Linked DNA regions of Homo sapiens: regions 2, 3 and 4 are each linked to region 1. The links are contacts of gene promoters, found by promoter capture Hi-C in blood cells and fetal thymus (Javierre and others, 2016). All regions are on one chromosome and are shown on one strand. Each heading gives the region's core, a stretch centred on a gene start or on the middle of the fragment in contact. The rest is flanking DNA. Distances are from core to core; before and after follow the strand shown. Region 1 holds the start of TMEM215 (transmembrane protein 215). Region 2 has its middle 28 kb from the start of TAF1L. Region 3 overlaps LOC105376017 (a long non-coding RNA gene). Region 4 has its middle 84 kb from the start of TMEM215.

Region 1 (6,236 bases), core at 1,778-4,277:
TGTGGTTTTATGCCCGGGTCTTATCTAATGCCTAAGTAGATAAACTGCATGGCTTAAAAATCAGAAAAGAACTGGATGTTTGTACAAGTGACAGGAGGTCTCCACTCAGCAATCTTGCTTCTTTAGGACCCAACTTTATTTCCAGCACTATTGTCAAAACACGTCCACAACACTGACATCAGCTCAGCCCTGCAGAAGTAACTACAAGAGAACCAAGGAACATTAGAGCTAAAATGAATCTTACCTAGCACCTCATTCAAAGTCTTTGTTTCATTAAGAAGTTGAAACACAGGAAGGTAAAGTTATTTTCCTAGGGTCACCACCATAAGAGGGGATAATCAAAGGACTTAGGAGGTAAAACTATAATGACTTGGGTGACTTACTGGACGTAGGCTGTTAGGGAGAGAAAGGAGTAGAGAACAATTGCAAATATTCTCAGTTGGCAAATGGAAGGAATGATGAGGTTGGGTTTGGAACATAATCCCAAAGGACACAATCCCAAACCCCACAATCCCTAATGTTGAAATCCCCATAGATCAAAATCACTAAAGTCTAAATCCCTGAAGTCTAAAGTCCCTAGCAAGTGTGAGGTGTCTGCATACCATCCAGATTAGAGATATCAAGCAGACAGTTGGATATTATAGATTTGGGGCTGAGGGAAAATGACAAAGCTAAAGAGAGAGTTTTGGGAGTCATCAGCCTATTCAGGCTGTTCGAGGCTATTACAGAATGAGAAGAAAGAGAAGAGAAATCAAGAAAGGGGAGAAGCAAGAATAGAACCCACAGAACATCAGTATCTAAGGGGTTTGTTAAAATAAAAAATAAATAAAATAGGAGTTTATAAAGTAGCCTACAAATAAGTGACCAGGGAGATAGGAAGAAAACTAGGATAGAATGGTGTCAGTAAAAGAAACGGTTTTAAGAAGGGAAAACTTTTCAATAATTGTAACACACGTAGCGAGCTGCTTCCCCAGTATTTAAAAGGAGCAGTATGCTGCTCCTTTTAAACAAAACCCTTTTTTCAGACCATCAGTGGATCTGGTAAATAAATAAACAACAATTTCCCAGGTACCTTTGTATCCCAAAGCTCATCCATCTCTGGTCAATTACAGGCAGATGCCTATCTACTTGGGGGGGCTGCCAGGAAAATTATTATTGTCCTCATACAAGTGGCCAAAGAACTGGCACCTCACTTTTACCCTTTGCATTTTCTCCTTTCTTCCCTCCTAAATGATTCTATGCCTAAAGGTGCAGCAGCTGTCTAATGGTCATGAGTACAAAAGATACAAAATAGATGATGGAGAGGAAAATGAGAAGGATCTGCTTCCTGATCCACCCCTTTGAAAGTGAGAAAGTTGGGAGTTGACCTTGGCTCCTCCCTTCATCTCACTTCACTGTGCTCCAAGACACTTCACTCAACCCTTAAATACCCTCAGATCTGCTTCCTTCCAACTCCTCTACCAGCCCGACATTGTTAAGGCCACATCATGTCTTGCCCGGCTTACTGAACTTCTCAGCTTACTGAACAAGACTCCCGGCTTCCAGACTTACCAGCTCCAACCTATGCTCTCACCTGCCGCCCCTTTCAGTCAAACTGGAATGTTTTTGTATTGATCTTTGCTTAAAATACATCAAGCGTTCTTCATTGCCTAGTGGATAAAAAGTCCTTAGTCTCACAGCCTTTATGATTTGTTTGGCTCCTGTCATACATGATGAAGACACTAATTATGATGACAAATATATATACATATACATGTGTACGTGTGTGCATGTGTGTGTAATTTTTGTACACAGACTATGTACCAAGCATTGTGCTAGGAACTTTACGTTTATTTAATCCTCACAATGTTTCCTCATATATTTGGTATTAATCTCATTTTACAGATAGGACGACTGATTCTCAGAGAGGTTAAGTCACTTGCCCAGGAATATACAGCTAGTTTAACTGGGGAAGGCCTGGATGTGAAAATTCTTTCCAGTAAATCAGTGTCTTGACATGAAAGCATGTACCGCTCATCAACCTGTTCTCCACCGCCCTCCTCTATCCTAAATGGGCAGCCCTGTTGAAGAATCACAGCCAAAGCCAGTCTTGCCCCCCGGGGCCAGAGGAATCCATCTGCCCCTGCCTACCAGAGCGGGAGGAACGCAGGCTCTCAATGCCTGCTTCAGCAAGGGAGGAGAGAATCGCCCAGAGCTGAGCGGCGTCGTAGGGTGGTGGTCCTGACCGGTCAAGGCCCCTTCTCCTCGTGAACTGGGGGCCAGGGAGCCCTTCTCCCTGTCCCCCCGGCACCACAGCGCTGTAGAAGTGAAATCCCGGCTCCAAGGTCACCCTCTCCCGAGCCTGGAGCTGGAAAGCCACGGGGACTCCGGGGACTCCCCCAAGGCCCGGACTAGCCTGGCACCCACCCCTCACCACTAACCCACTCCGCCTGGGCGCTGGTTCTGTGCGCTCCCGCGGCGCAGTCGCTCCGCTGCAAGAGCGCTTTCGCGCGCCGCCACCGCCCAGAGCCGGGACCAAAGCAGTCCTCGGGCACCGGCTCCCCGAGGGACACACACCCCCCCGCGCCCCGAGTCGAGGGGTTGAGAGAAGGGCGGTCGGGGAGCCCCTGGGCCTGCCGTCAGTCACCCGGATTTGTAACTGGAGAAGGGTGCGGGTCCCGGAGGGACATCTCCAGCTGGCACCTAACTCCTCGGATCCCGGACTGGGAGCCCGAGCTCGGATATTGCAACGGCTGCCCCGTGGGCAAACCGACCCTGGTTTCCGACTCCGGCCACTGGCAGCCTCGCGCCCCAGACCCTTCCCGGGCACGGAAGCGGGTCAGGTCGCCCTGCTCAGCCTCCGGAACGGCGGCGGCACAAACCCCGGCCGCTCCCAGCAGCCCCGACGAGACCCCGGGCAGCGCCTGCCGCCGGGTGGCCTCCCTCTGGGGCTGACCCCCTCGCGCCCCCGCGCGTCTGTCTGCGTTTCTGAGCCTGCTCTGACAGTGATGTAACAAGGCCAGGCTCGCGCCGCGTCCCCTCTTTCCCAGACTCAGTGCTCCCTCCTCCTCCCGCGCCCCGCGCTCTGCGCGCTGAGCTGGCGCCGGGCTCCGCTTGCACAGCACCGGGACCGACGGGCACTGCTGGGAGAGCCGCTCTCCCAGGTTCCACCTCCCCGATGCAGAGTCCGTGGGGGAAACCAGGCTTTCCTCCCAGAACCAAGGGAGCGAGCCGAGGGGGCAGCTGCTGTGGGGGCTTCTGAGGAGACAGCCTGGCTTCTTTCCCTACTTCCTGGAGAGGGCAGGAAACCTCAGGTACCTCGTTGACCCCAGCCGGAGCGTGTTGATATGAGAGAGAGACGGAGGTTGCAATAGTGAGAGGAAGAGAGGGAGGGCACAAGAAAGGGAGGGAGGGAGAGGGGACGGAGAGAAAGAGTAGAAATAGAAACAGGGAGAGATTGCAAGAGAAACGCAGAGAGAGAGATAGAGAGATTGCAAGAGAGATACAGAGACAGAGATCAAGACTGAAAGTCAAGAAGCAAGTCGGAGACAAAGGGCAAGAGAAAGACAAGAGTTGATGGGTGGGAGCTTGACTTGGATTTTTTTTTAACGCACTGTGGTTTCATCTCTGACAGAATAGAGGAACGCTGCTCCCTGGTCAGCAAGCAGCCCCCAACCTGGATGGAGTGAAACATGCGGCCTGATGACATTAACCCGAGGACTGGGCTGGTGGTGGCCCTGGTCAGTGTCTTCCTCGTCTTTGGTTTCATGTTCACCGTCTCTGGGATGAAAGGGGAGACTTTGGGAAACATCCCCCTCCTGGCCATCGGGCCAGCCATCTGCCTACCAGGCATCGCAGCCATTGCCCTGGCCAGGAAAACCGAGGGATGCACCAAGTGGCCAGAGAACGAGCTGCTGTGGGTCCGCAAATTGCCCTGCTTCCGGAAACCCAAAGACAAGGAGGTGGTAGAGCTGCTGAGGACCCCTTCAGACCTAGAATCCGGCAAGGGGAGCTCAGATGAGCTGGCTAAGAAGGCGGGCCTCAGGGGGAAGCCTCCCCCACAAAGCCAGGGTGAGGTGTCCGTGGCCAGCTCCATCAACAGCCCCACACCCACGGAGGAAGGAGAATGCCAGAGCCTCGTCCAGAATGGGCATCAGGAGGAGACGTCCAGATACCTGGACGGCTACTGCCCCTCGGGCAGTTCCCTCACCTACAGTGCCTTGGACGTCAAGTGCTCAGCAAGGGACAGATCTGAGTGCCCTGAGCCTGAGGATAGCATCTTCTTTGTGCCCCAGGACAGTATCATCGTTTGCTCCTACAAGCAGAACAGCCCGTATGACAGATACTGTTGTTATATCAATCAGATACAAGGCAGGTGGGACCACGAGACCATCGTCTAATCTCTGCCTACAAAGGTGGCTGGATTGATAGAATATGACTAAGCCCAGCTCCCCGTGGAAGCAAATTGCTCTGCTTGGAGAGCCTTCACACTGTTAGAAATTGACCTGGTATGTGATGGGTGTGATAACCTCTGGTACCCGAGAGTCATGTAAATAGGCATGTTGGGGACACATTTTAGGGAAGGGCGATGAGGGTTAAGGACACTGGAAGAGGCAGTGGGTAGGAAAGGAAGCTACTCCAGTTGCTTCTTAACAATTTACACAATGTTAAATGTTTTGTAAAATAACCCAAAAAGTGCTATCCAGAACCAGCTGAGAGCAAGATAAATCTAGAGTGGGCTGCAGATGTGAGGCATCAAATGATGCATGAGCTGACCACAGGGAAACTGAGCTGCTTTATGTTTGAATAAGTTGAAAATAAAATTAATGATCCGTTATATAAAGTAATTTTTGCCTGGTTAAAAGCTTATCACACTTGGTATTTGCTGAAAGAAAAAAAAATCAAGATACAAGAGTTAAACCCTCCTTAGATGGGATGGTTTTTGGGAAAAGGGTAGTTAAAGAGAGTTGGATTATGTAACTGAGTCTTGTGGCATTATTGTCTGACAAGATCATGGTCTCTAATAAAGTAAAATAAGTGTGAGCAGCTATGTGAAAAGTTAACATTTTTAGATGGCTATGTTACTTCTTAAACTCTTCGTTTAAATCCATTTATTGCATCTTTATCTGAAATGGGTTTTTTCTAAACATTTACTATCATTCATGTATTATTTCCTTACCAGGTGCAACATTATTTGAAATGATACTTTCATAGATTGGAATTTGTTTTCATCAAGACAAAATGAATTTTACATATATATCCAAGTCTTTAACATTGGCAGACATGTACTGATAATTACCATTCCTACATACCTTTTAAAATCTGAAAACTATAAAGTCTACACATTAGCCTTGAACATTGCACATAATTTGTATGAAATGCAATGGTTAAACCTTTGGAAGTGTCATTATTTGTACATTTGTTCAACTCCTCTCACAGACTGTAAATGCCAGTGAAACAAGAACTCATCTACTAAATTTAACTGAAGCCTAGATTTTATTAAGCTCACCTGATCAGTGAACATTACATGATAAAAGTCTCTTTATTTCATACATTTTTGCTGCTGAGGAAAACAACAAATCACAATGATATCCTAAAATGTGCTTTCTATTTCACTTGCTCAACTGCAATAGATAAGAAGGCTATCAAGCAGAATGCCATTTGATCCCCGGTGAAGAAAAATATGAATTATATATAGGAATGGTGATAGAGTTCATCTTGAAGATCAGAAGTATTTTGTATCCTTCAAAGAATGATCATTTTAAGTGATCATATAGTCTTAGTCACTTTCTCCCAAAAGGGGAATTGAGGACAAAAATTTGGGCATATATGTTTTGTGTATTTCAATTCCAACTCTGCAATTCTTTCTTAAGTATAGCAATTGTTCTGTCTTAAGAATCATGGTATTTTTAAAAAATCATAATTTTCAAGTCAAGTTCAAGATCAAAAATATGTAATTATTTTAGTAGGGCTTAAATATCAGAAATGAGATGCATGATCTTGGGCAAATTTTATCTTCTTACACCTGAGTTTCCTACTCTGTGAAGGGAGGGGGAACTGATTTACACTTGATTATTTCTATCATTCATTTTCAGTGTAAATATTCTATGGTGTTATGTCAAAGGCATTTTATATATTGCCAGGAAATGAGTTACAGCAAAATGCATGCCAAAGTTATGAAATTTATGATAATTATGTGACATACATTGCACAGCTACTACTCAAAAAAGAATTTTGTAGATGTATGAAAGCAGATT
Region 2 (6,236 bases), core at 1,632-4,131, 120 kb before region 1:
TTGGGCCACTCTGCTCCTGTGGCTTTTCAGGGTACAGCCTCCCTCCTGGCTGCTGTCATGGGCTGGTGTTGTGTCTGTGGCTTTTCCAGGTACACAGTGCAAGCTGTCAATGGATCTACCATTCTGGGGTCTGGAGGACAGCTCCACTAGGTGGTGCCCCAGTAGGGACTTTGTGTGGGGACTCTGACCCAACATTTCCCTTCCACACTGCCCTAGCAGAGGTTCTCCATGAGCACCCCACCCCTGCAGCAAACTTCTGCCTGGTCATCCAGGTGTTTCCATACATCTGAAATCTAGGTGGAGGTTCCCAAACCCTAATTCTTGACTTCTGTGCACTCACAGACTCAACATCATGTGGAAGTTGCCAAGCTCTGAAGCCACAGCCCAAGCTCTTCATTGACCCCTTTCAGCCATGGCTGGAGTGGCTGGGATGCAGTGCACCAAGTCTGTAGGCTGCACACAGCACAGGGACCCTGGGCCTGACCCATTAAACCATTTTTTCCTCCTAGGTCCTCCGGGCCTGTGATGAGAGCGGCTGCCGTGAAGACCTCTGACATGCCCTGGAGACATTTTCCCCATTGTCTTGGGGATTAACATTCAGCTCCTCGTTACTTATGCAAATTTCTGTAGCCAGCTTGAATTTCTCAGAAAATAAGATTTTCTTTCCTATTGCATTGTCAGGCTGCAAATTTTCTTAACTTCTATGCTCTGCTTCCCTTATAAAACTGAATGCCTTTAACAGCACCGAAGTCACCTCTTGAATGCTTTGCTGCTTAGAAATTTCTTCCACCCTAAATCATTTCTCTCAAGTTCAAAGTCCCACAAATCTCTAGGGCAGGGGCAAAATGCTGCAAGTCTCTTTGCTAAAACATAACAAGAGTCACTTCTGCTCCAGTTCCCAACAAGTTCCTCATCTCCATCTGAGACTGCCTCAGCCTGGATTTCATTATCCATATCATTAACAGCATTTTGGTCAAAGCCATTCAACAAGTCTCTAGGAGTTCCAAACTTTTCCACATTTTTCTGTCTTCTTCTGAGCCCTCCAAACTGTTCTAATCTCTGCCTGTTACCCAGTTCCAAAGTTGCTTCCACATTTTTGGGTATCTTTTCAGCAGTGCCCCCACTCTTGTGGTACGAATTTACTGTGTTAGTCTGTTTTCACACTGCTAATAAAGATGTACCCGAGACAGGGCAATTTACTAAAGGAAGAGGTTTAATGAACTTACAGTTCCACATGGCTGGGGAAGCCTCACCATCATGGTGGAAGACAAGGAAGAGCAAATCACGTCTTACATGGATGGCAGCAGGCAAAGAGAGAACCTGTGCAGGGAAACTCCACCTTATAAAGCCATCAGATCACGTGAGACTTATTCACAGGAACAGCACTGAAATACCCACCTTTATGATTCAATTACCTTCCACTGGGTCCCTCCCACAACATATGGGAATTCAACATGAGATTTGGTTGGGGACACAGCCAAACCATATCATACACAGTAAATAATGGAGCTAGGATTTTATGTTGGACTTTGTGACTCCAATATGGGCCCATTCTACTTTTCCACAGCAACAACTTACTAAAGCTTCCATAAGAATCCCCAATGGGGAGAACTAAGAATCTCCTTGGCTCTGTATACATCCAGATACTCTTTTAGGTAAAGATGCAGCATTCAGCTTAGTTGGAGGGAAGTAGAAACCATGGTCCTTACCCTTGAGTAATTATCTTCCTTCTGACTGGTGAACTGAAATTATTCAAAAAGGTCTTGCATAAAGCATGACTTCTGGCATAAAACACATGCTTAAGTAGAATAACAATAAATTACAAATTCAAGCATCTTCCCTACCATTCTGTCTTGGAAAGTTTATTGCTACACAGACAAATCCTCCAATGAGTGCAAGAAAAATATAAACATCAGCTACTGAATTTTATCCATACTGATATTTGGTCATGTGCCAAATGGGTTTGCACTTTAGCATGCAATATTAAAACTTCAGAATCCACCATCCTTGACCTGCACTGGATTCCCCCAAATGCTTGAAGACTCCACTATTCATTGCCACATCAGCTGTGAATTTCTAGCTTGTTGCTAATCTCCTCTCTTTCTCACAAATCAGCTTCTTTTTTAATTTATTTATTGCATCACCTTGCTATGTATACTGGAAACTTTTACATATTTAAAGTTGTAATTTAAGAAACTACAGAGAAGCCAGAAATAGAAGTTTGGGTTTTAAAATTTTTTCTTACAAGAAAGGGTTAGAAGCACACCAACCTAGACAGAAAAAAAGACAGACTCTCCTGCACAGGTCTGGGGAGTTGCTGATATACTGCCCTTGTAAGTTGGCACCCTGGCACCCATGGCATGTAGAGGTAAAGGGTATAGAGTAGATACAATATTGCCCAATTATCCCTCCTTCAAAGACTCTCTTGCCAGAACCAACACCTTACCCACCTGCTTTCTCTTCTTAACTTTCCATTTCCTCAGCCTCTCACTGCATGACGGCTTTGACTTCACCCCCATCCATTGGTACCATGAAAGACCCTCTAGATGCTATACATATTGGCACTTTTCAGTTCTTATCATACTTGACCTTTATGCCACACAGTTTATTGGTCCCACCTTCCCAAAACTCTCCTCTTTAGGGTAAGGCTAATAACTATTGTTGTCATTATAAGTTTGCATTCATAGAGTGCTTATCATTTATAAGGCAGTGTGTTAAGCACTTTGTGTGCATTCTTTCTTTGAACACTTATAAACCCATGATGTAGACATTATTATTATTCCTATATCACAGATGAAGAAATTGAGGCACAACAGGTTAAGTAACTTGTCCAAAATGATACAGCTAGTAAATGGCAGAGCCAGATTTTGAACTCAGATTTTCCTGCCTCCAGAACTCCTATTTGTAAGCATTACACTACATTGCCTCATAATGTTTTCAAGACAGTGACTGTCTTAGTCAGCTGGGCTGCTATAACAAATTACCATAGAGTGAGTGGTTTAGACAAAAGACAGTTATTTATCATAGTTTTGGAAACTGGGAAGTCCAAGATCAAGGTGTAAACACACCCTGAATGTACAGATTTAAGGAGTGTAGCTGGCTGGAGAATAAGGGGTACTCACATAAACACCTTCCAATCAGTGTGTAATTGATGGAGTATAAATAAAAGTGCTTAAAAACCAAAATGGCTCTATTTGTAAATAAAATTTCTATATGCTTTGTTCAAAACTCATAGATTAATTCAAAATCAAAACCAAAATCCAATGTGCAAAAACAAAAAAAGGGACACTTAGGCAAATTTTTGCAAGTTTCTGATGGTTTCGGTCTCCTCTAGGAAAAAAAATTATTTTGGCTATGCCTGGTGCTTGTCTGTATCCTTTAAATCTTCAGGAAAATTCGGTATGGGGTAAGAGCTATGATTCATGTTAGTCTGTGTTTGACTTTCGTGTTAGTATAAAGATTGAAAAAGTGAACTATATTCCTGGAAAGGCTAAAAACAATAATAATATCACTTAGTATGAACCAGGTGCTGTGTTAAGCATGGCAAATCTGATGGAGGTTTAAGGGCCTTGTGGAGAGGTAGGGAGGGGCTCTTGCTGATAGCCAGCCAACCCCCAGAGGCAGAACCACTTAATTAACCTGCAGCTGACCCAGACACAGGAAAGAACCCAGCTGAAATCAAAAGACCTGCCCAACTAACGCCAGCCTAAATTACTGACCCATAGAATCATGAGCTCAATGAAATATTGATACATTAAGCCATGACGTTTTGAGGTTTTGTAGCAGTAATGAACTACTACAATCTTCAACTAAATCACCTTTTTAAAAAAGCTGTGAAATGAGTATGATATGCTAGTAATATATATTTTCTAACATACAACAAAATAAAAATACATTATAACTATTAAATTCTCTTAAAATGTTAAAGAAAAAAGAGAAGATATTATTCCAGGCAAGGCAGATGGTCAAGAGTACATTTGAAAAATAGAGGAAATTTAACTGGGTTTGGAAAATCATGTAGGATGTGACTGTGTAGAGGTCAGTGAGGATAGAAGTATTGGATTAGGGAGAAAAGGATATTCTACAAATATAAAGTGTATTTGGAAGATAGTGGGTAAATCAGCTCGGTTAAGACATAAGTGTTTTGGTTTTATTTCTTTGTGAAGATCTAAACCTGGAAAAAGCTTTTAAGAAAAACTTAAATGTAGGCTAATGCCTTCAGCTGGATACCTAAATAAATAAATAATCCCTGTCACCATCTGTTTTTTCAAAATGAGACCAATGCATGTCTAACCTCACTTATAACTAGAAGGGACTGATTTCTGAGGGATCATAACTCTCCTTCAAAGTCCTTTTTTTGAGGCTGGGCAACATACGGAGACCCCATCTCCACAAAAAATAAAAACATTAGCCAGGTGTAGTGGCACATGCCTGTGGTCCCAGCTACTCGAAAGGCTGAGATGGGAGAATTGCTTGAACCCAGGAGGTCTAGGCTGCAGTGATCACGCCACTGCACTCCAGCCTGGGCAACACAGAGAGAGACCCTGTTAAAAAAAAAAAAAAAAAGAAGAAGAAGAAGAAAGAAGAAAAAAGAAGAAGAGAAAAAACATTCTTTTGTGATCATAATGAACAGAGAATAACTTTCCATTCCTACATTAAATGATTTAGACACAGCATAATGCAGATTTTACAGCTGGTAATAAGGTAAACAGAAAATACAGATGACCAGAAGCTAGGAGACAAGCTGATGCTCTTATTCAGCAACTAATGAGCTGTGTTACTTTGGGGGTGTGATATGTCTCTGAATCTCAGCCTCCTCATCCATCAAATACGTGGGGTTAAACCAGATGATCTCTAAGACTTCTTCCAGCTCTAAAATTCTGTCACTCTCTGTCAGCTATTCAGCAAGACAAGCAGCCATCAAGAGATCATCAGATTCAGTGCTGATTCAGCCCTGGGCAGAGGTGCTTCTGAGTACTTCAGGGAGGAGCTTGTTGTGGAGTTCCAGCTTACCAAGCCTGAGTTTTGCTTGATGCATAATGACTCAGGCGCTTCCCTCAGAGGGTGTGTGTGTGTGTTGGGGTAAGGGTCAATAGTGAAAAAAAGTTAAAATCCTCACACTATATTATATCCAGTCTGAAAGTTTAATGTATCTCTAGGAGGCACATAGGATATTACCGGAAATTGATTCACACTTTGCCTGCAAATACCATGGTCAGCTCGCACAGCTATGAAGAAATACCTGAGACTGGGTAATTTACACAGAAAAGACATTTAGTTAGCTCATGGTTCTGCAAGCTGCACAGGAAGCATGGCAGCATCTGCTTCTGGGGAGGCCTCAGGGAGCTTTTACTAATGGTGGAAGGCAAAGTGGAAGCAGGCATCTTACATGGCAGGAACAGAACCAGAGTTGGTGGGGAGGTGCTACACACTTTCAAACAACCAGGTCTTGTGAGAACTCACTCACTCTACAGTACCAAGGGGTGATGGTGCTAAACCATTCATGAGAACCCTGTTCCCAGGATCCAGTCACTTCCCACCAGGCCCCACCTCCAACACTGGGGATTACAATTCGATATTAGATTTGGTAGGGACACAGATCCAAACCATATCAATCAGAAAAATTTTAAAACTAGAGCATCCTTAAAGGGAGCTCCTACTGAGCCTGTCTTGGCATAAGTGCAGCATTCAAAACAGAGACCAGTGTCATGGACTGAGTGATGAAGGAGAAAGGAAGAGGAGACAGGAAAACTGTATTACAATGATCCATTTATTCAACATCTGTCATTCAATCTAGCACTTTCTGTAGGCCAGGCACTTGGCTAGGTGCTGGAAATACAGCAAAGATCAAAACCAACAAAAAATTCCTGCCCTTATGGATCTTACAATTTCTTCCTGATATTTCTTCTGTGGTAGCCAGGACGTGTACTATTATGCACACATCTGTTTCTGGGGTGTTTGTTGTTTGCTTGTTGGCCTTCTTTTGTTTTCTTTGTGTGGACTGTAAAGAGTTGGTGGGGTTGGGGGTAACTTTCTGGTGCAGATGCTTGGAGGACTGAGGACACCTGAAGGATACTTACTTGGATTGGTCAAAGCTTGACTTAACTCGTTCATTCAATCATCAATTATTTATAGAGAACCAACTATATAAAAGGTTCTGCAGTTTAAAAAAAAGTAAATAAGCCAGATTCTCTGTCCCAAAGATAGTCGCAACTTAGTTTTCCCTACTGAGGAAA
Region 3 (6,236 bases), core at 2,292-4,791, 100 kb before region 1:
CAAAATAACAAATTTAAGTTACCAAACATAGACACTTTCACTTGTAATACATTTTGGGGTTTTTTGGTTGTTGTAGTTGCTTTTTTATGAAAAGAGTTAACAATTTTATTTTCACATTTCACAATACAAATAAAAACTACTTTTTTTTGGTCCCACTTCTCCCCTCCAAAACTATTCTCTCTTTGATAAGAAAAGAGAGAAAGTCTTCCTTATCGCGCTGTTAAGAAAACACCCAGAGTCACAGCACCATGGTCTCCTAGTGAAGTAGAACAAGTAATATAAACCTGATACACAAGGCCTCTGCACTATCCTTAACCATCTGGTCAAGTCATTCTAGGCCAAGCAGGCACCATCATGGGACAGGCGGGAGGCCTTATCATTGACATGTGACCTCCCATGAGTGGCTTCATTCCAGGAGCAAGTCCCACTGGCATCATCCCACGGAAAGGAGGGCCCATCATTGGCATCATGGGAGGGCTCGCATATGGGGTGCTGGCATTATACTTGGGCAAAGAGGACCTGGAAGGCTGGGGGGAGGGGGTATCATTGCCCCTGCAGAGGAGGAGCAGAGAATAGAGTAGGAGGTATCTTTCCTGGATGAAATGCAGCCATTGTTTAGTCAATCAGGGTCTGACTGTTCTTCTCTCCATTTTTGGTAGTAGTCTTTCACATTCTCTTTGTGTTTCCTACCACTGAAGTGGGCCTTTCTCACAGATGGCAAGTCATGGGAGAGCTACATATTGTAGTAGACACAATAAGACTTGGGCATGTTGCTCTGAAGGAGGTTGGCCACTCCATTCCACAACGCCTGGAGATGACCTTGTAATACATTTTTCAAACTTACAGTATAACATGGAAATAGTGGTAAAATGTTTTGGAAAAAAAAACCACAACATTTTATTCCAGGAATTCTCTGACCATACTATCCTGTCTTTCTAGAACTTTTCATCCCTACTCTGATTATACCTGTTCTTTGATCTTCATAAGATCTTCAGCAAATTGTATACTTCATTTTACCCTAGTCTTCTGTTTTGTATCATCCTTTCCTGTTTCATTTTCTTCCCTTTCCTGCCCAGGTCCCATTCTTATCACTTCAACTACTTTCTACCGAGAAAACCCAGCTTCCTTATCTCTTTTACCCCCTTCTATTAAACCTGTCTTATAAATCTCCAACCCTGGATTAACCCAAACATATCCATCTTCTTCCATGCTACCCACTGGTAGCCAAGTGTCAGAGAAATACACACAGCTAGGTGGACTGGTGCTACTACTATACATTTAGGATTTCCAGTCTCATCTGGGTCCTCAGTGCTTCTAGCCATCTGTATCTGTGTCTCTGGTCAGTTACCCTTTTCCCCTCTTCTCCATGATAGGTCCAAACTTTTGCCATTCTTCTCATGCTCCCTAGCCTATCCTAAGTACCCCTACTTTCTTTAACTGATAAAACTGAGATGACCAGGGATGAGCTTCCTCAGTTCCCACTCCCCACTCACAAGCTTATCTGCATCTCTGTTTTCCTTCCCGGGTGTCTTGGAGGACGAATGTGTCAAGGCCAGTGTCACCACTGTTCTTGTGTCACCGCTCTTGAATTTACTCTTCGCCATATCCATCCAGGAATTTGTTCCATCAATGATTCATTTGCTCTCCTGTTTCTTCAACTTTCCCCTCCTTCTGGTTTCTTCTCATCATATTCAAGTCTCTTTAAATCTAAAAAATTACAGGTAAAACTCTCACCATTCTACATTCCTCTTTTAGCTATCACTCCAATTTGTCTTCTTTTTATCTGGGCTTCTGGAGAGGTCCTCCATCAGATATGACTTTCCTTCTGCCTCTTCAAATTCACAGAAACTGCTTGTCCTAAGGTCATCAATGACTTCCTCATTGTTTAACCCAGGGAATAGTTTGTTCTTTCTTAGTTGACTCCTCTGAGATACTTGGCATCATTGCTCTCCTTTTTGAAACCCTCTTCTTTAACTCCCAGTGGTGCATAGGCTGTAGGTTTACTGATAGCTCCCAAATCCTATCTCTAGCCCAACCCACTCCTTCAGACCCTCATATTGAACTGCACACCAAATTGCCCACCTGGATCCAAATGCAACATATCCATAATGGGACCCATTTATATATCCCCAAGTTTCTTCCATTCGTGGGCCTCAGTTACCAAATCAGAAGCCTGGGAGTCATCTTTAACTTCTCCCCTCACCTCCACCCTTATAGCGAATGGTTGCCAAGTATTTTCTACTCTACTTAATAAGAAGGCCTCACATCTAACTTAGACATTCAAAGAATCAACTGACTATTCTGCTTCCCATCTCACCCCAGCAAAATCTCCTGTGGAGATTGGAATTCTGTGGTTTTCTCATTCTGCTCTTCATATGTAACATCCATTCACTGAATGAAAACACCTGACTTGGGAGGAGTGACCCCAGCTGCAGTGAAGGGTGCCAAGTATCAAGCTGATTTCTTTTCTAAGTATTTGTGTTGAGAAAACAGGGTTTTGCAAGCCATAATCATCTTGAATTATGCATTGTTGAGCTGCTTTAAGCATAAAAGCAAAAGAAATAAATGTGTAATAATATTCAGGGTAAAGTTGGGCCATGAAAATCATCACAGTGAAGTCATTTGTGGGGCCTTGCCAGGTTCTTCTCATAAGGATGAATCTCACTAGTTCCCTTTGAAATGCAGGGGCTTGGAGTTCTGAACCACAATCCTATCTTTGTGCTCCAAGTTAAAACACATGAAAATAAACCAGAGGACAGGAGTGTGCCTGCCACCTCCTCAGCAGCCCTTCTGGCACACACGGGTAGACGATCACGTATAGATGCATCTACATGGGTAGATCCATCACCACAGCCCTACTTGATGTCATCACAAGGCATGTTCCAAGACCCATCTGGAAGGTGTTTCAGAAGAGAAAAAGCCTAGAAGACTTCAACATTTATAAAACAGCCCATGTTAATCAGACTCAATTTTATGTCAGAAAAATTTTTAAAGGAGCAAAAATGAACTAAATACTATCCAAGATTCTTTCCAGCTGAAGAAAAGTCTACAATCCCTTTAAGTCACTGGTTCTTAACTTTGGTGGCAGTGGAGGTGAAGGAGGTGTTGCAGACTCCTTTGAGAAATCAATGGAGGATATGGATTCAGTTTTCAAAAAATGCTTACACATACCCCACCCACACCCCCCAACCACAAACTTTTATGTACAATTTCAAGGATTTCATGCATCCCAGTTTAAGACCTCATGTCTCCATTTCGGCACTGACTACACATGAACTTGAATGTGACTGAAACATTTTTTGTAATCACAAAAATATAAGATTTCCACTTAGCGCCCCTGAAAATCACCTAGGTTTCTAACCTGTTCCTCTTCCATTTCCTAAGGGTTCTTACTATGGACTTCCCTGGGTGGTGGTGGCAGGGGGGCTATTTCTCAGCTCAGCAGAGAATGCTGTTTCATAGTTAAGCCAGTGTTTCTCAAACAAAAGCCTTTGGAAGAACTTGGACTCATTCCATCTCCAGGCCCATGGCTTCTGGACTGGCTGTGCTAGGAAGGGTAGGCCAAATTTTAGCTGTCCCCAGTAGACTTTCCTCTCCACTGGGCTGAGAGTATTATCAAAGAGACCCCAGATTTAGAAGCCAGGCTGGAAGTGGGTAGAATGGTTCAAGCTGCTCCTTTTCTGAAGAGACGTAACTTGGTCTGGCTTGTCTACAGGTTTGAGTCAGGGATGATGGGTGCCTGAGAGGAGGGGAGAGTGGAAGCCATTAAGACAAGGAAACTTTTAAGGGCTTTGGTGGTGCTGGCAGTTGGCATGAGTGGGACACGTGGAACTGGAGCTTGTATTAAGAAGTTAAAGCTGGAGTAAAATGTTTCCCACACTTAAATGTTCTCAGTGCTCAGATCAGTCCACCTGTCTGAAGCCGCCGGAGAGTGTCTGGGGCAGCATTATTCTTGCTGCTTTATTACTATCATTGCCATGTGGCCTCTAATCTCTGTTATTAAGAACAACTTTGTTTTACCCAGATTCTTCACTTTCTAGAAACTCTCACTTCATGATTACTTAATGGGCATTTACTTACCACTTTCATTTTCCTACAATTTGAGGGCTTTTTCAAGAATTTCAAAAAAGGGTCAAAATTTCTGATTCCCTTCTAACTGGAAGTCTTGAGAAAATATCTTGCATGCCATAACAATTAAATAAACATGTTTCAATTTCTCCAGTTGATGAAAAAGTCCAATTTTGTTTCATATTACTTCTGCAGAATTACAGAAAATGAAATGTTGGCAGAATTCCATGGGAAAAAATAAGGATTTTAGCAGTTTTGCCTAATTCAATTACATCATTACTTCCCAAACTCACCAGTTGTTATACCATATTGCAAAATGTCACCAGTACTTTCCCAGTTTCATATATTATGGAGAAAAGAGAATTTTATTATGTGCCTGTACAGAAAGTGGAAGAGGAGTTTGTACAAGAGAAGTGTCACATGACAGTGACTGCGTGCACTTGCCTCCTACAAATTCTGATAGGTGCAGAGAAAAGATTTTAACGAAGTTTATTAGTTCATAATTTTTTTAAAGAACAAAATTTGCAATTTTACTTTGCCTTAATGAGTTAACACAATGTGTTCAATGTATTATGTAGAATAATACTCATGAAATAGATGCTTTCTGTGGACTCAAAAATAGAGGCTTTACATTCACAGTTCTGTCTACCTGGAACTCCCCACCATGCACATACACACTTTCTCTCTCTCTGTCTCCTCTCTCTCTCTCTCACACACACACACACACACACACACACACACACACACACCCCTTCACAAATTCATTCCAGGGCATCCTTCATTCTTCACCTGATTGGAAAAGTGATTCTATGTCCAACGTGAGTAGAGAAGGGGCTCCAACCCAAGGACGTGGTATCTGTTTGAGAAGAAGGGAGGAAAGGTGGGAAATTAGCAAGCATAAGGTTTCAGTGGAAATTATGTCACTCTCTTCCTGCCCCAGTCCCCATGGCACTGTAAATGTGAAAGCAGCCCCAGCCCAAGCCTAAAGGAAGAATAATCTATTATTTATGAATGTAAGCAGTGAAGCCATGGAGCACTTAAAGCACAGATACTGGAAGCAAAATGCCTGGATTTGACTCCCAGCTCTAAAGGTTACTAACTGTGCCACCACAGATAAATTGTTTAACCCCTTTTTTGCTTCAGTTTCCTAATTGGTAAAGGGAAATAATAATAATAACAATAAGAAGAAGATAAAGGAGGAGGAGCAGGAGAAGGAAGATGAGCAGCAAGATGTCGGACTAGAAGGCTCCACCTATCATCACCCATCCAAGGACACCAAGTTAATAACTATCTATACAGAAAAAACACCTTCATAAGAACCAAAAATCAGGTGAGCCCTCATAGTACCTGGTTTTAACTCCATATCACAGTACAAGATATAAATAGAAACAACAAAAAGTTAAAAATCAGGGAAACAAAGTTATGGCATAGAGTTCGTATTTTTTATTTTTTGCTTGAATACGCAAACAGTGTTATGTTGTTATGAGGTTAAAATAATGGGTTATAAGATAGTATTTGTAAGCTTCATGGTAATCTCAAACCAAAAAACATACAACAGAGACACAAAAAAATAAAAAGCAAGAAACTAAATCATATCACCAGAGAAAATCACCTTTCACTAAAGGAAGACAGAAAGGAAAGAAAGAAAGAAGAGAAGACCATAAAATAATCAGAAAACAAGCAACAAAATGGAAGGAGTAAGTTCTTACTTATCAATAACATCACTGAATGTAAATGGACTAAACTTTCTAATCAAAAGACACAGACTGACTGAATGGATGAAAAAACAAGACCCATTGATCTGCTGCCTACAAGAAACACACTTCCCCCATAAAGACACATATAGGCTAAAAATAAAGGGATGGAAAAAGACATTCCATGCCAATGGAAACCAGAAAACAGTGGGAGAAATTATACTTATATAAGACAAAATAGATTTCAAAACAAAAACCGTAAGAAGCTACAAAGAAGATCACTAATGATAAAGGGGTCAATTCAGCAAGAGGATATAACAATTTTAAATATATAAGTACCCAACACTGGATCACCCAGATACACAAAGCAAATGTTATTAGAGCTAAAAAGAGAGATAGGCCCCAATACAACAATAGCTGGAGACTTTGAGACACTTGACTTTCAGCACTGGACAGATCTTCCAGACAGAAAAT
Region 4 (6,236 bases), core at 1,249-3,748, 84 kb after region 1:
AATCTTTCTCATTTATTTTTATTACCTACAGTGTCTAGCATAGTGTTTCTTAGATTAATTAATTAGACCTACTGCTCGTCTTGTCAGGACTATTTGCTGTGGCCTATAGCTACGCCAAACAATGTTCTAAACAGAATGTTCTACTTAGCCAGGTCTCCTCTGGGCACCAGTTGGGGGAGAGGGACCTCATTCAAAATCCTATTTCCTCTAGTCTTCCCTGTCTAGGTATACCAACCTGCCCATCCATGCCACAAGATATAACACAAGATATTGCATTCACTTCCAGGATAATTGATTCCAAGATAACGCATTCACATGGCAATGAGCCTTAGGAATGTTGATCAAAGAAGGGCTTAGTTGTAGGAGTTCACTGGTTGTGACTCCTACCACTCAAATGTCTGGCTCCTACCAAAATCCCCAGTTGAAAGAGATGTTATCATTGAGCAGAACATCCATCAAGCTTCCCTTTGGGCAGTATTCCATCACAATAACCACATCTGGCAGTGCAATACAGCCTCCAGTGAATCTGCAGATGTTTGGATGATCTAATTCTCTAGAAAAACCAATACAGATTAGAAAGGATTTCTCTGGGACATGATCTCCTAATTCCCACTTTAAAATCTGACCTAGTTTTTCTGACCACATAAAGAAACAAATATCCCCCTGGATTTAGTGTTGTGCAAAAATAAAGCTTGCAAATCCACCCACTGTGATGCAGGGTAAAGCACTTAGAAAAAAACATAATCGTCATCAAAATTCATTCTGGGCCAGAACTTTACATTCAATATCTGTAATTTGTGCAACAACCCTGACTGGTGGCTATAACTGTCCTCACTCTAAGTGAGGAAACCAAGGCTCAGAGAAGTGACGTAACTTAGCCAAGGTCCCCCTGATAGGTAATGGAGCTAGATCCTAAACCTAACTTGGCCTAATTCCCAAATTCATTCACGGTGTTTTTCAATCATTGCCATAGTGCATTCCAATATAAAATACAAATACAAAAAGAAGAGTTCTTACACTGGGAGAGTTGAATTTTCTTCACAAATAATATTGTTTCAGAAACAAAAGGCAATTTTCACAAGCCAAGTAGTCACAGACTTTTCAGTCTCTCCACGCCAACCTCTCATATGTTTGTTTTTCTTTAAGTTGGATTCACCCAACCCCCACCCCAGGGAAAGAGTAGGCTCCCTAAATCCCAGGCTTGCAGCTGGCATTTCAGCGTGGTCATTACTACATCTGCACCATCAGCACAGAGGCACAGGTGCTGCCTTGCATAAACCAAAGATTGATTTGCAGGTTATCCATGAGGAGCTTTCCAGTCATAACATTTTTCTCCAATCAAGATTCCAGTATCCTTTATGCAAGTACACAGGCAGTAGGGGAGGGAAAATATCTACTGTCTTTTCAGCTTAAGTTTGCTTCCCCAATCATCACATCTCGAATTACTTCGCAAGACATTCTCCAAGGAATAGCACAATAGCAGTACTTTTCAGAACTGATGCCAGGGAGGGGAGGAATGTTTATGCTTGTAGTAAGTCCCAGCTGGTAGATGAAGGGCCTTTTCCCCACTCTTCAGAGTGGAATTCTCTGGTATCTCCTACCCCTTACTCACTTCCCACCAAGGAAAGGAATCATCGGTGAGTGGGAGTTCACACTCACTATGTCACCATTACTGGTGGGCGGCATCACTGTGGTAAAGACCATCTCTTCCATTACTGCTCCCACATGGTAAGCACCACTGGGCAGTTCCTCCTCTGTGGGAAGAGCTGCTGTTCTTGTTCTACCTACAACTGGGGTGGGTGAGGTAGGCCCATAGTCCTGGTGTGTAGGTGGTCAGATAAGTGACTTTATGTCTGCTCTGCAGGCCAAGCTGCTCACATGCCCACTCGCTCGTCTGGCTGAGCATGTGGGTCTAATGACTCAGATGTGGTCTCTGTGGTAGAAGCATGCACTTCAGCATCTGGCTCTCCAATCCAGCTTTTAGCAGAATTTGCTTTGAATATCAGGGACTTGATACTGAGGACAAGTGTTACTTTCTTCTCTTGCTATTATTCCTTATGTGTTCTTCCCATTGGTCAGAAGCAGAAAGGGAAGAAGAGATGAATAGCAACCTGAACATTTAACAACTGAGAGCTCTTGCAAACCAGGCTCTGAAAATATTCTCTATCAACATTAGAATGGCACCAAGTCAAGGGCACATGAGGAAACCCCTCCCAACTGCAGGATGAGATGTCTGAAATACCTGACGTAGAGCATATTAAGAGAACAATTATCTGTGTCCAGCTTTATCATCTATAATATATGTTTTATACACTCATCAAGCAAAGATGCTTTAGTTTGCTGAACCCAGTGAATCACAGAGACTTTTGCAAATGTGAAGAAATAGTATGTAGCTGCAGGATACTGCAGGCTCCTTTGCTAACTGGAAGATTAGTTGCTGTATTTTGCAAAACCCCAAACTTCAACCCAACCCATTCTCTCTTAACCAAGATAAACTGCCGTCAACCCAGCATCTTCCTCTTCCATTCCCTACCCATTTCTATTTAGAGAAGAAAGAACTGAAAACTGATATTAATATATTGCTGTATGAGTGTTTTGGAATAAGAGAGGAGGAAATAGGCCTACTCCCCTTCTCTCTTCCCTCTCCTGAATCTAAAGCCAACCTGATGCAATAGGGAAGAGTGGTGGGAGCAGAAAGAAGCTGAACCTCGGTGGGGAAGTGCAATTGTGATTTCCTCTAATAGGTAAGTTTTTGGCATAATCTGTGCACAAAATAAGGCCTTAGACTGTAAGAGAATAATTACTTTTTCTAATAAAAGCCATTGTTCTTTTGCTGCAATCAACTTTCAAGTTCTCTAAACATTTGTGATATTAATTCTATCAAGCTCTAATCCTTTGGCCATCACTCGTCTTCTTGTTCTTAAGAAGAACCTCTACTTATCCTTTGCCATGATGGGTTAAATATAAAATAAGATATAATAAAGTAAATGAAAAGCAAGGAAAACTATTAGGTTTGTACTTGTGTACCAACTCTGAGAGATGATTGGAGATGACTGAAGCACTGTGTTGGGAAGGATTCTGAGGCCAGATCTGTACTCAGAGGAAAGGTACTAATATTAGAGCGGTCCATGGGCATGAGCAATGCACACATTGTCCATCCTTGAAAGATTTAGAGTCTTACTCTTGAGTCCAAAAGGCCAGTTCACAAGGACATCAGTATGGAAGGTTGGTGTTGCAATAATACATATGAAGATTTGGAGTTTGGACCAACTACAGGCTCAATATGAGCCAGCAACATGAGAGCATTGCCAGAGATGGCAGCATGGGTGGAGGCATGTTGTCCAAGGCTAGGGAAGCACGATCTGCCCTGTACTGGCAGGATTGTGGCAGGAGTGTTGGGTTTCATTCTAGATGCATGCTTGGAGAGAACTGTTAGTCAACAGCTAGAGAGCAGTGCACTCGATAAAGGGCTTTTGAATCTATGTTTCATGGAGAAAAACAAGGATGTTCAAACTGAAGAGAAAACTTTCAGGGAATCCAGATACCCACCCTTCTTGGTAATACCTGTTGCCCCCAAGGTGAGCTTCCCAGATTCTTAGCAACCACTAACTTATCTAATGAGGTAACCCACAGAAGCTCTCCAGTGCATTTACCTGCCTGCCACTATCCTGGTGGGCCTGCTGCACCCAGATGTCAAGCTGGTAGGCTGGGATCAATTAGCAATTGTAATTAAAACTGAATGTAATTAACCACATAACAGTGAGATGTTCTTGATTAATTTCCTGAAGTTAAGAGACTACTATAATGTTCTGACAGAAGACAATAAATAATTCAAAAACTCCTAAATTTGGTTATGCATTTGAGTTTCATCCAAATAATTGTTCACCAAGCCATTGTTACTGAATAAAAATGCATTGGCCCACACACATAGGTTAACAATCTTAATTAATGATCTTGTGGCCCACTACCAAAAGGCTTGAATGCCCCTGCTGACTTTAAGTGCTTAGAAAATAGATAGCTGATGGCTGTACAACCATGTAAATGTGCTTAACACCACTGAACTGTGGACTTAAAAACGGCTAAAATGGTAAATGTTATGTCATGTATATTTTACCACAAAAAAAAAAAATGTTCAGGCCAAGAACAATAGTTCATATCTGAATCCCAGCACTTTGGGAGGTCGGGGCCGGAGGACTGCTTGAGGTCAGGAGCTCGAGACCAGCCTGGGCAATAGAGTGACACCTTGTCTCTAACTTAGAAAAATAAACAAAGTTTTTAAAAATAGCACAGTGCAGTGGTATGAGTACAAGCTTTTGGGTCAAGCAGAGAGGTACTCAAATTATGACTGGGCTACTTATCGGCTCTGTGACCTCAAGCAAGTTGCTGAATCTCTCTGAATCCATTTCTTTATCTGCAGAATGGGAGTAATAATGCCTACCAGTCTAATTAGGTGGGTAGCCAGAAGTAAGGAATACAACTGATACATAGAAAGCATCCAGTGGGTAACATGGCAGCCGAGGATAGGTCAGACTCAGCATAAAGACCAGTGGGGAGAAGTTACAGGAAGACCTACTAGCGTTCATGATAAGGAAAACTTGCTAACTTAGATCAGTCTAACAATAGAAGAGGCACCTCTACAGAAAGACCATCGCACTGCAAAACCATAGCCCCACAAACCACAGCAATGGGGAAACAATGACCCACGAAGCAGAGGTTCACAAACAATAAATCACTCCCCAACATTGAGGCTCGTAATCCATTCCACAGGATGAAGGAGCCACCTGTGAGCAGCAAACAATCTCAGGCTCAGGCTTCCCACAGGGGTGGTTCCTCAAGGCCACCAGCCCCGTGTATTCTGTTTACTTTACTTGCAGCACTTCCCTATGGATCACTTTGGAGAAAGTAAATGTCTTCTTCTTGATCCTGTTTATGGCCACAGTCCTCATAACTGTAATAAGATAAGCTATGTACACTCTTACTTGTGTGAGATCAGAACTACATTCCCCCTCTCACCCATGGGTAAAGTTAAAGCGGCATCCTCCCAGGACAAGCTGGTTTGATGGGCACAGGAATTAGCTAGAGAGCATGAGACATTCAGTTGCTGGGGAGGCTCAGGAATTGGAAAACGCTACCAGGTATCTTAACAGCGTTGCAGCCCCTCTTGCTGAAAACCTTCCCTGTGGGTCCCAGTTGTTAGCTTCAGGCCTCTAAGAGGAGTCTGAAATGAGGAGACAGGGGTGGGGATTCCCGCATAGTATTTGGAGCCATTGATTCCTACAAAGTTTTGAGGATAACCTTTCCTTGATTGTTTTCTCAGCCTTTCTAGGAGCTGCCTTCTTGGAGCTCCCCAAAATATTGCAGTAATCCTTTCTAATCACCTTGCTTTGGACTTATCTGCTTGAGTGCACATGTCTGCACTGTACTGTGAACAACCTGAAGACCTGCGCTATGTCTTTTTCTTTCTTTTTTAGACCTGTGGTCTCACTATGTTGCCTAGGCTGGTCTCATACTCCTAGGCCATCCTCCCCACTCAGCCTCCCAAAGTGCTGGCATTACAGATGTGAGCCTCTGTGCCTGGCCTTATGTCTTTTTCTTGCTCATATTCCCCACACCATTGCCAAGTGCAGAGCCAGCTTTCAGTGTAAGATTGTAGAATAAATTGGATAGAGAGCTGGGGACAAACGGGCTGCGAGAAGACAAAGAAAGGAAGGCAAGGAAGGAGAAGAGAACTCCACAGGATACTGACTCCACACTTGATACGCTTTCCCCTACCTTGGGTGATGATGATTTAATCCTTGTGAGAACCCAACCAGGGTAGGCACTATTGTTACCTTCTCTGAATAGAACAAAGAAATTAAGTAACTGGCACAGAGATAGTCATTAGTGAGTGAGGGGTCAAGATTCAACCCTCATCTACCTATTCCAAAGCCCAGGCTGTTTTCTCTAAGAAAACACAGCTCAGCCCAGTCCCTTTCCCTGGTTCTGCAGCTCTGCCCTGTCTCCATTCTGCAGAACCCCCTCCCTGTTACTGAAACCTCTCCAACAATCCAGAGAGCTGGCAGTGTTACTGCAATTCCAAGTCCTACGAATCTACACCAGTGCAGTCCTGTGTTCTTCAGGTAGGAAATATTTGAGAGAATGAATTCATATACGTTAGCTAGGTGCTACTTTCCTTCTCAAAATAGTAATGAATACCTTTGCTGTGAAATTATGGTAGGGAATAAATTATTGTTTAT

What was found. The method cuts DNA at HindIII sites, captures the fragments that hold promoters and counts their contacts. A CHiCAGO score of 5 or more calls a contact.
Region 2: a fragment that was not itself captured here is called in contact with the fragment with the promoter of TMEM215 in region 1 in 3 of 17 cell types (M2 macrophages, M1 macrophages and M0 macrophages); the score reaches 11.2 in M2 macrophages.
Region 3: a fragment that was not itself captured here is called in contact with the fragment with the promoter of TMEM215 in region 1 in 1 of 17 cell types (M2 macrophages); the score reaches 5.8 in M2 macrophages.
Region 4: a fragment that was not itself captured here is called in contact with the fragment with the promoter of TMEM215 in region 1 in 1 of 17 cell types (M2 macrophages); the score reaches 5.4 in M2 macrophages.

Annotation. Positions count from the first base shown.
Region 1 is chr9:32,780,513-32,786,748 of GRCh38, forward strand. TMEM215 (transmembrane protein 215) reads left to right here and starts at 3,028. Exons shown (of 2, transcript NM_212558.3): 1 at 3,028-3,293; 2 at 3,614-6,236. The coding sequence starts at 3,672. The coding sequence ends at 4,379. It overlaps LOC105376017 (a long non-coding RNA gene), which reads right to left and starts at 2,394. Exons shown (of 7, transcript XR_929559.2): 1 at 2,131-2,394. The HindIII fragment of the contact is 4,873 bases long and covers 1-4,842 here.
Region 2 is chr9:32,660,316-32,666,551 of GRCh38, forward strand. No RefSeq gene overlaps it. Among named protein-coding and RNA genes, the nearest start is that of TAF1L, 28 kb to the left of the region's middle. The HindIII fragment of the contact is 2,601 bases long and covers 1,582-4,182 here.
Region 3 is chr9:32,675,752-32,681,987 of GRCh38, forward strand. It overlaps LOC105376017 (a long non-coding RNA gene), which reads right to left. Exons shown (of 7, transcript XR_929559.2): 6 at 4,858-4,924; 7 at 3,536-4,257. It also overlaps the pseudogene SNRPCP1. Among named protein-coding and RNA genes, the nearest start is that of TAF1L, 43 kb to the left of the region's middle. The HindIII fragment of the contact is 4,094 bases long and covers 1,495-5,588 here.
Region 4 is chr9:32,864,651-32,870,886 of GRCh38, forward strand. No RefSeq gene overlaps it. Among named protein-coding and RNA genes, the nearest start is that of TMEM215, 84 kb to the left of the region's middle. The HindIII fragment of the contact is 3,619 bases long and covers 690-4,308 here.